2 separate regions of the Homo sapiens genome follow, and region 1 is linked to region 2. The links are contacts of gene promoters, found by promoter capture Hi-C in human tissues and cell types (Jung and others, 2019). All regions are on one chromosome and are shown on one strand. The core of a region is centred on a gene start or on the middle of the fragment in contact, and the rest is flanking DNA. Distances in the headings are between cores, read along the strand shown. Region 1 holds the start of ZBTB8B (zinc finger and BTB domain containing 8B). Region 2 holds the start of SYNC (syncoilin, intermediate filament protein).

What was found. Contacts are between HindIII fragments. The study calls those that stand out against the background at their distance.
Region 1: the fragment with the promoter of ZBTB8B here is called in contact with the fragment with the promoter of SYNC in region 2 in 1 of the 25 tissues and cell types used here (adrenal gland).

What each region holds. Positions count from the first base shown.
Region 1 is chr1:32,461,326-32,467,477 of GRCh38, reverse strand. It overlaps ZBTB8B (zinc finger and BTB domain containing 8B), which reads right to left and starts at 2,406. Exons shown (of 4, transcript NM_001145720.2): 1 at 2,373-2,406. The HindIII fragment of the contact is 24,686 bases long and covers 1-6,152 here.
Region 2 is chr1:32,698,787-32,704,833 of GRCh38, reverse strand. SYNC (syncoilin, intermediate filament protein) reads left to right here and starts at 2,064. Exons shown (of 5, transcript NM_030786.3): 1 at 2,064-2,226. The coding sequence starts at 2,174. RefSeq lists silencers at 1,515-1,604, 1,655-1,704 and enhancers at 1,065-1,830, 1,831-2,596. The HindIII fragment of the contact is 12,190 bases long and covers 1-6,047 here.

The sequences.
Region 1 (6,152 bases), core at 1,157-3,656, 240 kb after region 2:
GTTCGAGACCAGCCTGGCCAACGTAGTGAAACCCCGTCTCTACTAAAAATACAAAAAAATTAGCTGGGCATGGTGGCGGGCACCTGTAATCCCAGCTACTCGGGAGGCTGAGGCAGGAGAATCACTTGAACCCAGGAGGCGGTGGAGGCGGAGGCTGCAGTGAGCAGAGATTGTGCCACTGCACTCCAGCCTGGGCGATAGTGCGAGACTCCATCTCAAAAAAAAAAAAAAAAACAAGTGTGTGGAGGGACTTTCGCCTTTCATTTTAAACCTTTCTGATAGAATGTTTTACTATGTGCATGTATTGCTTTTCTTTTCTTTTGAGACGGGGTCTTACTTTGTTACCCAGGCTGGAGTGCAGTCCATGATCACAGTTCACTGCCGCCTCGACCTCCCAGGCTCAAGCAATCCTCCTACCTCAGCCTCCCAAGTAGCTGTGACTACAGGCATGCAGCACCACACTCAGCTAATTCTGAAAACATTTTTTTGTAGAGATGGGGTCTCACTATGTTGCCCTGGCTGGTCTCAATGGTCTTGAACTCCTGGACTCAAGTGATCCTTCTGCCTTGGCTTTTTTCTTTGTTAACTAAGAAAAAAAGGAGGCAGGGCAGAGGGGTAAGGAGTTGGTAAGCCAGGTAGATAAATATGTAAGTACGCACAACACTTCTTAACTTGTAGTATGGTCTGATCTATAGGGGCTCTTCCCAGGGCACTTCCGTCTTTCACTGGAAAAGCCTCCTTTCCAGAAATAGCACCTAAAACCAATTTCTTTTGGCTTTCTTACTGAAATTATTTTTTATTCTATTGCAATTATTTTTATTCTACTTCCTGACGTTGCAAAAGTCTATCCGTATAGTATTTTCTTCAAAATTTTCCCCAATCCTGTACTTGGTATATATTGTGTAAATATTTATTTATATCACCCCCATTTGCCTGAAGTGCTCTGCTGCCCCGGGAAGTGCTGAGGATCACCACTTATCCCAGAAGAGCAGCTCTTAGGGCAGACTGCTCTCAGAAGCACATTTATCCGCACTCTGGCAGGGAACCTCCCAACCATCCCACGGTTCCAACTCAATTCAACGGTTACCGGCTACATACAATGCCTGACACAAGGAAGATGCCAGGAATAGAAAAATGAACCAAGTATAGTGCCTGTCCTCCAGGAGACAGCAGATGCCAACACAACTACCTGCAATACAAACTCTCATATACCCTTGAGGGAGTCCTAGCCAGATCACACAACTGTCTCTGTTCAGAGGCCAAAAGCAGCCTTGAATTCCACCTCCGACCCTTTCTGACAAGACTCCTCCAGTCCCACCAACCTGAGAATAACAAAAACCTGCTCCTCAATTTTAGTAAATATTAAGCACTATTCCTTATAAAACACTGTACAAAGTACAAGCATATTCATTTTACTTTTTAAATTAAAATTTTTAAAAGGCACGGTCTTGCTCGGTTGCCCAGGTTGGAGTGCACGATCCTACCTCAATGCAGCCTGGAACTCCTGGGCTCAAGAGATCCTCCCAACCTTAGCTTCCCGAGTAGCAGGGACTACAGGTGCGCGCCACCATGCCTGGCTTTTACAAGCACATTAGTTTTCACCTCACAATAATCCAGTACGACAGATACTCTAACTACATCCTCTTTTTCAGAGGAGGAACTGAGATTCAAAGATGCAGATAACATCACCAAGTTAGTAATAGAACAGAGATCCGACTGACTCCCGGGTTGACATCCTTAACCACTATGCTAACCGGCCTCCTCAAACCCTCCAGGACACGATGCGACAGGTTGGGGAAGTCACTCCTTTCTTTTAGGCATGGATCGGAGGAGAAGGACACTGGAGAAGTTTCCATTTCCATACGAAGAATTTCAGGGTCAACTGCATCTAAACTGCTCGCAAGACAGACCCTCCCCCGTCCAGCATCAGACGACCTGCAGAGAGGCCACCAGAACCAGCTACAGGGCACGGCCCCCGAGGGTGGGACCCCAAGGCCTAGCCCCTCCCATGGCCTCCCGCGGACAAAGTGGCCATCGCTGCCGCTGGCACTTCTCCAGTGTGGCCGAGCCCCCCACGCCTGGGCACCATTCACCGTGGAAGTAGTCGGCGCCGCGACCCCCGGCTGGACGACGCGGAGGACACCCAATGACAGGGAAGCTGGGGCCCCACGGCCGCGCCTGCCCCTCCCCACGCTAGAAGGGCTCGCGGGGCGGAGGTCCCAGGAGTTGCCAGGGCCAAGCGGTCCGAAGGAGGATGACTGAGTGGGGGCAACCCTGCCCGCTAACCCCAATCTCCAGCCAGCCTCCCGGGTGCTAGGAATCCTCCCCAAACCAACGAAAGCGGCAGCGCCAACCCGCTTCTTCGCGCTCACCTTCCAGCGGGTTCCAGCAGCGCAGCCACGGAGCACCGCGCACCGACACGCCCCCCTTTCATTCACCTGGCGCCCTCCGATGAGAGGCGGGGCGGCTGGCCAATCGCGGGAGCGCCTGGCCTCGGGAAGGCGGGCCCTTCGGCCAGCAGGGTGGTCAATGGCGCTGGTGCCCCTCGGAGGATGCGCTCTGAAGGCGCTGGTGCTCGCAGGGTGATGGGAGTTGTGGTCTCAGCGCTGGCTTTTCGGGTAAAGATAGAGTGGACAAAACTACAAGTACCAAGATGCCAAAAGGGGCGAGGACCAGTGCTAGCGAAAGGCTGCAGCTCGGTTCGGTCTTTTGAGTCCCACTTGAGGGACCTGCCAAGTACCGGTCTCTTTGTCTGGAGAGCGAAAAGCACGTCGTGGGTATTAATGCAGTCCAGGGAATAAGAGCTTTGACTCATCAGTCCGCACATATTTCACCTACTGGCGCTTTCCGCAAAAATCTGGAAATAAGGGAAATGGTTTAATCGATTCAACAGGTTTTTATTGCATACCCGCGGTTTCTTTCACTGGGTAGTCGTTACAAAAGATAAAAGATTCAGCTCTTCCCTTGACAGGCTCTCCGGTTCATACATACTAGTGAAACGGTTAAATGGCAGTACTAGGTGCTAAGTGACCGTACAGGCGTGTTCTTGTCAGCTGTGAGCAAGACAAGGCAGCTTACCGCTCTCAGGGAGCTTAGTTCTCATGGGGGTGTATTCGTTTGCTAGGGCTGCTGTACCTAAGTATCACCAACCCGGTGGCGTCAATAACAGATCTTATTGTCTGACAATCCTGGGGGCATCTGAAAGCAAGATGTTGGCAGGGTTCTTTCCTTCTGAGCGCTGTGAGGAAACGGTCTCTTCCAGGCTTCTCTCCTGGGCTTGCATATGGCCATCTTCATGTTCACAGGGCATATTCCCTGTATATGTCTCCATGTCAAAATGTCTCCTTTTGGTTGCAGTGAGTCGAGATCGCGCCACTGCACTCCAGCCTGGGGCGACAGAGAGAGACTCCGTCTCCAAAAAAAAAGTATTTTTATAAGGATACCAGTCATATTGGATTAGGGGTTCACTCTATGCCAGTATGACTTTTTTTTTTTTTTTTTTTTTTTTTTTGAGACGGAGTCTCAGACTCTGTTGCCCAGGCTGGAGTGGTGGCGGGTGGATCACCTGAGGTCAGGAGTCCGAGACCAGCCTGGCCAACATGGTGAAACCCCATCTCTACTAAAAATACAAAAATTAGCCGGGCGTGGGCCAGTAATCCCAGCTACTTGGGAGGCTGAGGCAGGAGAATGCTTGAACCAAAGAGATTGCAGTGAGTGGAGATCTGGCCACTGCACTCCAGCCTGGGCAGCAGAGCAAGACTCTGTCTCAAAAAAAAAAAAAAAAAAAAAAAAGGCTACCCCCTTCGCTGAGAGACCCTAATGAGGAGTAGTGAGCCATGCTAAGATAAAACAGAAAACCGGTTGGTACATATCTAAGAAACAGGAGAATGCCATTGGGTTGAGGAAGTGGATGGCAGGTAGACCAGCTTAATGGACGTGCAACCCACGCAGTGGCACAGGCCCGCACACTCAGAAAGGGCTGGTGCTTCCAGGTGAGGTTTTATACTTAACAAAACAAAACAAAAAAAGAGCCAGGTGCGGTGGCTTACACCTGTAATCCCAGCACTTTGGGAGGCTGAGGCGGGCGGATCACTTGAGACCAGCCTGGCCAACATGGCAAAACCCAGTGTCTACTAAAAATACAAAAATTAGCTGGGCATGGTGACACATACCTGTAATCCCAGCTACTCGGGAGGCTGAGGCATGAGAATCACTTGAACATGGAAAGTGGAGGTTGCAGTGAGCTGAGATTGTGCCACTGCACTGTTTCAAGGAGGAGGAGGACGAGGAGGAGGAGAGAGGGAAGAGGGAAGAAGAAGAAGAGGAAGAGGAAGGAGAGGAAGGAGAAGGAGGAGGAGGAGAAGAAGAAGAAGAAGAAAGATTTAATTACTAACAAAAAGAAAATCTAAATAAATATTTTAAAAATTAAAAAAAAGGAAAGGGCTGATGCCTGGTTTAATGCTCTGCCATTGCCCTCTTAAAATTCTTAGTAGTTTTTGAACAAGGAGCTCTGCATTTTCATTTTGCATTGGGCCCCACAAATTATGTAGCCAGTCCAAGCGACAGGAAATATGAATGGATAGAGAAGCAAAGGCCAGATTATGTAGGAATTTGTAGGCCACCTTAAGGAGTTTGGATTTTTTCTTATGAATGTGAAGGGACACCTTCGAAGGATCTTAAGCAGGGAAGAGATAAGATATGATCTCTCCCCTGCTGATAGATGCTGATAACTGGGGATAGGGTAGAGGTGGTAGAGATGGAGGGGTTTGTTTAGGATATATTTTAGAGCTTGTCAAAAATGTAATTGCAGTTCACTCTAAAGATAACTTAATAATTTTAGAAGGTAAAATGTCAGCCAAACACCACTATACTATCTATCAAAGAAAAGTAGTTTACCTATTTCTTGTAAAGCTGGATACCCAGAGAGGGACAGCAGCAGTTACATCTTTCCTGTTAGTGTGGCTGTCCTTGCCACCTGGTTCCCAAAGGCCAGCTCAGGTGCTGAGGACTTTTGATCATCATAGCAGCAGAGAAAGCATCAGAAGTGAGGAGCACCAAGCTTCTCTGGGCTCAGCCTTTTGTATCTTCTTACCTGGGAAGTCATGTCACTGATGCCTTCACCTTAATTATGACTGTACCTGGAACTCACCCTAGTATTCATTCCACATCTCCTGCATCCAGGCTCCAAGTTTCAGGTCCCAAATTTTATGACTATGGCACACGCAACCTGTACTGGATGACCTAGTAACATTCCAGACTGCTAACGTAAAAGGGCTTTTTGGGGTGGCCTGCATAGGACATGCCCCTGACAACTAGGCATAGGAAATGTTAGAGGCCTTATGATCTCTAGATCTGTTGTGGTCTGCTGTGGGACTTACTCTCGCCACCAAGACCAGCACAACCTTTAGTGTTAGATGCTCTGAACTTCAGTATATTTTTCAAGGTTCAGTTAAAACCAACCTGGCTAGTTTAAGCAAAAAGCAACCTGGCTAGTTTAAACAGAAAAGAATTCATATAAGGAATTAAGTAATACAAATTATCAGGGAGGCTAGAGAATGACTCTGCAGGGATGACTCCAAACTGTCCCAACAGGGTAGCTACCCATTTTTGCTGCAATCAGGAAGGTAAGAAATCAGGACATCACCACTGTACCTGTTAAGCTCAACAACACACTGTTGTGGCTGTGATTAAGGGATTGGAAGTCACCATCACTATTGCTGCCCCTGAAACAGGCTCTCGACCCCTACATGGCTAGTGACTGGACCCTGCAACCCTGCTGCAGACACACCTCATACCTTTGCTGCCACACTTCAGCAGCAAGCAGCAGGCGGGTGGCCTCCACTTCATTTCCAAATCCTGGCCATGACATTTTAACTCTCCAGATTCTGCAGCATAGGAAGGGACACTAGAAGGAGATGGGAATGGATGCTGACTGCTAATCGACAGTACCCAGCAGCATGAATGGCACAGCAATGTGTCACTGAATCTAAAACTTAGGACCTCCAGAGCAAAAAATAGAGAATTAAAAATTGCTGGCTGGGTGCAGTGGCTTACGCCTATAATCCCAGCACTAGGAGAACGAGGCAGGTGGATCACCTGAGGTCAGTAGTTCGAGACTAGCCTGACCAACATCGCAAAACCACCCCCCACTA
Region 2 (6,047 bases), core at 815-3,314:
AGATGTGATCTGAGACCTGAAGGAGAGTAAAAGGTGGGCTGTGAAGAGCTGGAAAGGGTTTTCTAGGCAGAGGGAGCAGCAGAAAAGGCCTGGCTGGGTGTGGTGGCTCACTCCTGTAATCCCAGCACTTTGGGAGGCTGAGGTAGGAGGACTGCTTGAGCCTAGGAGTTTGAGACCAGCCTAGGCAACACAGTGAGACCTCGTCTTTACAAAAAATACAAAAATTATCCAGGTGTGGTGGTGTGCATCTGTAGTTCCAGCTACTCGGGAGGCTGAGATGGGAGGATCACCTGAGCCCAGGAGGTTGAGGCTGCCGTGAACCATGATTGCACCACCGTACTCCTGCCTGGATGACAGAGTGAGACCCTGACTGCAAGAAACAACAGCAACAAAAAAAACAACAACAAAGGCTTGGAGGTGGGGAAGTTTCTGGGACCCTGGGGAATTCAGGGTTTCAGCCTAAAGAAGCGCTGAGCAGGAGGGTAGGAGCGGGTCAGAAATTCAGTCCTAGGGACAGCCTAAGGCCAGGTCCTGGGCTGGGGGTTGGAGGGGCAGAGCCAGCTCTTCTGAATGCCACCCTTGCCGCCTGTTGCTTGGTACCACAGCAAACAGAGCCTCTGGCAGGCCTGCCCTTGCTGCCTTAGCTCTCCTCTGGCGGGCAGCAGATGTCAAATGCCCAGCAGCTGAGGCTTCGCCAGCCTCCTCCCCTGGAATAGTTCGGGGGTAAGTCAGAAAATGACCAGCAGCCTCAAAACCTGGCTTTTTCTCGTGCGTACCTTACAAGGGTATATTTGGCTGCCCTGGGTGTTAAATCTTCCACCCCCTTGCATTAGACAGAGAAATATAAATATACAGCCACAGGCAGCACACTCAGACGCGAGGATGAATGAACATTTATCAACCCCCAGTCACGCACAAGCACACAGTCAGAGTCACAAGCGGGACCATATGCATGCCCCCCACACAGAGTCAAAACCGCCAGCCCCACAAAGACACTCCACCATGGCACAATCACCACACACATTCACCCTGAGATCACACAATCACACATCCACATGCTCACACACAGACATGTACCCCACAATCACCGCAGAGTCACACAGGGGCACACAAGCCCACACACATTCAACACCACGGCATGCTTCCCCCACCGGCCTCCCAGGCACCCCAGCCCCTGGGGCTTGTTATGGTGCCAGCATTCTTCTGCGATTGAGTCAAAGACCTCCCCAGACAGGGTAGCTAAGTGGAAAAAGGAATCCGAAGGAAGAACGCCTGAAGCCCAGGTCTGGGAAGGGGCCCAGCAGCTTCTCTCTTGGGGAGAAAGACGTCAGTGCTGGTTTGACCCTCACACTAGTGGGCTGAGGACGTGGGGGGAGGTATGTCTTGAAGTTGACAGAAGTGGGCTGAGTGGGGTGACAGGTGGAGCAGGAGAGAGACCCCAGGAAGCCTCAAAGGGTGGGGCAGAAAGTGGGGTTAAATATGGACTCAATGTGATAGGCGTAAACTCCTCCGCAGTTCTCTCTAACCCCAGCCACCCAGCCCGCCCCCAGGCTCCAGGCTGTCCCCAAACGCGCGGGGTGTGGCCGTGAACCCTCCTCCCCGGCCGCGCCCTGCCCCGCCCTTCACGACAGCTGCCGGGGACAGCCCGGAGTGCCCAGAGGGTGGCTGCGGCCCTTCCCCTCTTGGGTGGGGACCAGAGGGCGCTGAGCGGCAGCGGACACCCCCAAACACTCGCGGGAGAGGGGTGCTGGCTCCCTTTGAGCAGCCCGCCCAACCCTGCCTCCACCCTCCCAGGCTGGACAGGGAAGGTGCTCCCTGGGGCTTCAGACCCCCCTTCTGACTCCCCCTGCAACGGGACCTCACGAAAGGAAGGGTGGAGAGAAGGTTCGGGAAGACGAGGGGGCTGGGAGGTTTGGAAAGACAGCTCCAGGCCCCCGTTCCCACCCCCGCCCCAGGCTGGTCCGGGAGGGGCAGCCTCTCCCCGCCCCCAGGTCCGCGCGGCCGCTCCCTCCTCCCCCGGCAGGAGCCCCGGCCAAGTGGGCGCGCCCGGCCCGGGGCCGGCCGGGATCCGGTGTCGGTTGCAGCTGGCAGTGCGGCGGGCGCGGGCGCCGGAGCGAGGGGCCCGCGGGCCCGGCTATTAATAACGCGGCCGCCAGCCCGGGGTCGCGCAGCCATGGCCAGCCCGGAGCCCCGGCGCGGCGGGGACGGCGCCGCCCAGGCCGCGAGGTAGGACAGTGCCGGGCCCGCGTCGCCGCCCCGCTGGGGAAGGGGTGCTGCTGGACGGGTTCCCTTTCCCCCCGACCGCGGGCGTCTTTCGCCTGTCTAGGGGTAGTGGTCCAGCCGGGGTGGGGCACTGGAGCCGCCTCGTGAGGGGACATCGGGGAGTCGGGCCGTCCCGGGGTCCTGGCACCTCCGTTTGTCTGTGGCTTTTTATAATACCCCTCCCCCTCCCGGGACTACATGAAAATTAACCCTTCCAGGCGAGTGGGCATCCACCGCTCAAGTGCCATTTGGCCCATAGCAGCCAAAGACACTTCTCGCTAGCCTTCATTCCTCCCTGCAAATGTCAGTTGGAGACAGAGGCCTCCCCTGCTGAAGTGGCTGTGTGGAAGCCACTTGGTGCAAGGCTGGGCATCTGCCAGCTTGAAGTTAAGAGTCTGTCAGGGCTTGTTCTCTCCCGTCTGGCCTGGGATGGGTGGGGGAAGGGTCCAGGGGCCCTCCCCACTATCCCTCCTGGCAGGGCACGGCTGATTATTGGGGGAAGGGACCTGTGGCTGAGGGGTTTGGGGTGAGGTGTATTTCTGTCCCAGGTCATACTGTGGCTCTGGGACTTCCCAGTGTACCAAGAGGTGAGGGTGCAAATACATAGCTCCCGACACCCCTTCACTGTCACACAGGGGCACAAAGCTGAGCGGTCTTACACACACACACTCACCCATACTGCTGTCCACACCTACAGCTACAGTCAGACACACGGACTCTTGCCTGCACAATGTCACATGGACTCCCAGCCACATCCCTGAACAGGGTTGGAGAGCTCTGCGGTTCTCTGGGGACAGGGACAGAGTGGCAGAGGCAGGCTGCCCAGGGCCCAAGGAAGCCCGAGGTCAGGGGCCCCAACTAAGCTGGCTTCCTCTCCTCTGAGCCTCCTGTCATCTGCTTCTTTCCCTCCTCTCTCTGTTTAAAAGAGGCGGCTGTGTGAGGGCAGCACCCAGCAGAGGCCTGGCACCATGGGTGGGGTGGTGGAGGCAGCACGATGTGTGCTAACAGCACAGCTTGGAGGTCAGGAGGCCTGGGTTTTACTTCCAGCTTTGCCATTCGACCTTGGGCAGATTTCCTCCTTGGAGTTCATCTGGTTTCTGCCTGTCTGCCCTTACAGAGCCCCACCCTAGGATATAGAGCAGAATGAGAACTCTGCTTGTCCTTAGGAAACTCACTATCAGGGAGACAGACACATGTACTTCTGTAACTGGAGCAATAAGTGTGAAGATGTGCTGCATACAGAGTGCCCTGAGAACACACATGGGGCTGTCTGGGAGATACTTTACGGAAGAGATGAAGTTTGAGCAGGGCTTGAAGGATGAGTAGAAATTTGTTAGATAGATAGAAGTATATTGTGGGCCCGGCGCGGTGGCTCACGCCTGTAATCCCAGCACTTTGGGACGCCGAGGTGTGCGGATCACCTGAGGTCAGGAGTTCAAGACCAGCCCGGCCAACATGGTGAAACCCGGCTCTACTAAAAATACAAAAATTAGCCAGGCGTGGTGGCGTGTGCCTGTAATCCCAGTTACTTGGGAGGCTGAGACAGGAGACTTGCTTGAACCCAGGAGGCAGAGGCTGCAGTGAGCGGAGATTACACCATTGCACTCCAGCCTGGGCAACAAGAGTGAAACTCCATCTCAAAAAAAAAAAAAGTATATTGTGACTGCTGCATGCCAGGCTTTTTATATGTGCTGTAGTTACCTCTTTTGGACCTCACGCCTATCCTAGGAGGGTGGTAAATACTGCAGGCCTTCTCCAGCCTCCACCACTTACAACAGTTGTGGAACCTTGTGTGAGTTCTTACTCTGTGCATTGGCTTCCTCATCTATAAAATGGAGATAATAGATGAAGATTCTTTCTTTCTTTCTTTTTTTGAGACAGAGTCTTGCTCTTGTTGCTCAGGCTGGAGGGCAATGGCGCAATCTCAGTTCACTGCAACCTCTGTCTCCCAGGTTCAAGCAATCCTCCTGCTTCAGCCTCCTGAGTAGCTAGGATTACAGGCACACACCACCATACCCAGCTAATCGTTTGTATTTTTAGTAGAGACGGAGTTTCACCATGTTGGCCAGGCTGGTCTCAAACTCCTGACCTCAGGTGATCCACCCGCCTCGGCCTCCCAAAGTGCTGGGATTACAGGCGTGAGCCACTGCACCCAGCCAATAGATGATGAGGATTCTATAAATGAGTATTCATGTAAAATGCCTAGAATAATCTTGAACACGGTGAAGTCATTCCAAGGTGGGCGGCTCGGCACGAGAATGATGAAAGGGCCGTCTGCTGGGAAAGCAGGGACTGTTGAATATCAGAGTGAGTTTGGCTGGCTGAGCAGGTGCATCCTTCCTGGCCCTGGCTCTAGGAGCTCTGCCTTCCCAGGTAGTACAGGGTTCTCTAGTTAGGTGGTTTTTGAGAAGCTGCAATTCTCAGCTGGACACCGTGGGCTTAGAGTAGGAGGTGTAAAAAGTTAATGCAAGCTCTAGGATGTCAAGCATTGGGTGGGTTGCAGGAATAATGTGAGAGGAAGCTAAAAAAGGTATGTTTGGGGCCGGGTGTGGTGGCTTATGCCTGTAATCCCAGCACTTTGGGAGGCCGAGGCAGGCGGATCATGAGGTCAGGAGTTCGAGACCAGCCTGACCAAGATGGTGAAACCCTGTCTCTTCTAAAAATACAAAAAATTAGCCAGGCATGGTGGTGGGCGCCTGTAGTCTCAGCTACTCGGGAGGCTGAGGTAGAGAATTGCTTGAAACCAGGAGCCGGAGGTTGCAGTGAGCCGAGATTGCACCACTGCACTCCAGCCTGGGCAACAGAGCGAGACTCTGGCTCAAAAAAAGAAAAAAAAAAAAAAAGGTATGTTTGGGCCACATCTTTAAGGACCTTGAAACCATGCGTAGCAATTTGGGTATTTATTGGTGAAGTGGAGCAATAGTTCACTCTGTGTTGTAGCAAGTTAACTGTGGTGGTGTAGAGAATAGATTGAGGTGAGGAGAGGAGGAAGTCCTTTTAGAAGACCAGGACAAAAGTGCCAGTGAGACAGGATGTCTTGGAGTAGGGCCCTGATAGTGGGATGCAGAAGAGGGGGATGGAGACTGTAGTCTTTCTAAGATAGAAAGGTCACTTTTTGGCCAGGCGCAGTGACTCGTGCCTGTAATCCCAGCACTTTGGGAGGCCATGATCCCTGGTGGATCACGAGGTCAGGAGATTGAGACCATCCTGGCCAACATGGTGAAACCCTGTCTCTACTAAATACACAAAAATTAGCCAGGCGTGGTGGCAGGCACCTATAGTCTCAGCTACTCAGGAGGCTGAGGCAGGAGAATCACTTGAACCCAGGAGGAGGAGGTTGCAGTGAGCTGAGACCACGCCACTGCACTCCAGCCTGGGCGACAGAGTGAAGCTCCATCTCAAAAAAAAAAAAAAAAAAGAAAAGAAAAGTCACTTCTCAGTGAACTGGCTATACAGGGGAGGGAAAGAGCTGTCTGAAGATTTCTTGCCTGTGGCCGGATGTGGTGGCTCATGCCTGTAATCCCAGCACTTTGGGAGGTCTAGGTAGGAGGATCGCTTGAGCTCAGGAGTTTGAGACCAGCCTGAGCAACATAGTGAGACTTCATCTCTACAAAAAGTTAAAAAATTAGCGGGTGTGGCGCTACGTGCCTGTAGTCCTGGCTACCCGGGAGGCTGAGGCAGGAGGATGGCTTGAGCCGGGGAGGTTGAGGCTGCAGTGAGCTATGATCATGCCACAGTACTCAGGCCTGGGCGACAGAGGGAGACTCCATCTCAAAAAAAAAAAA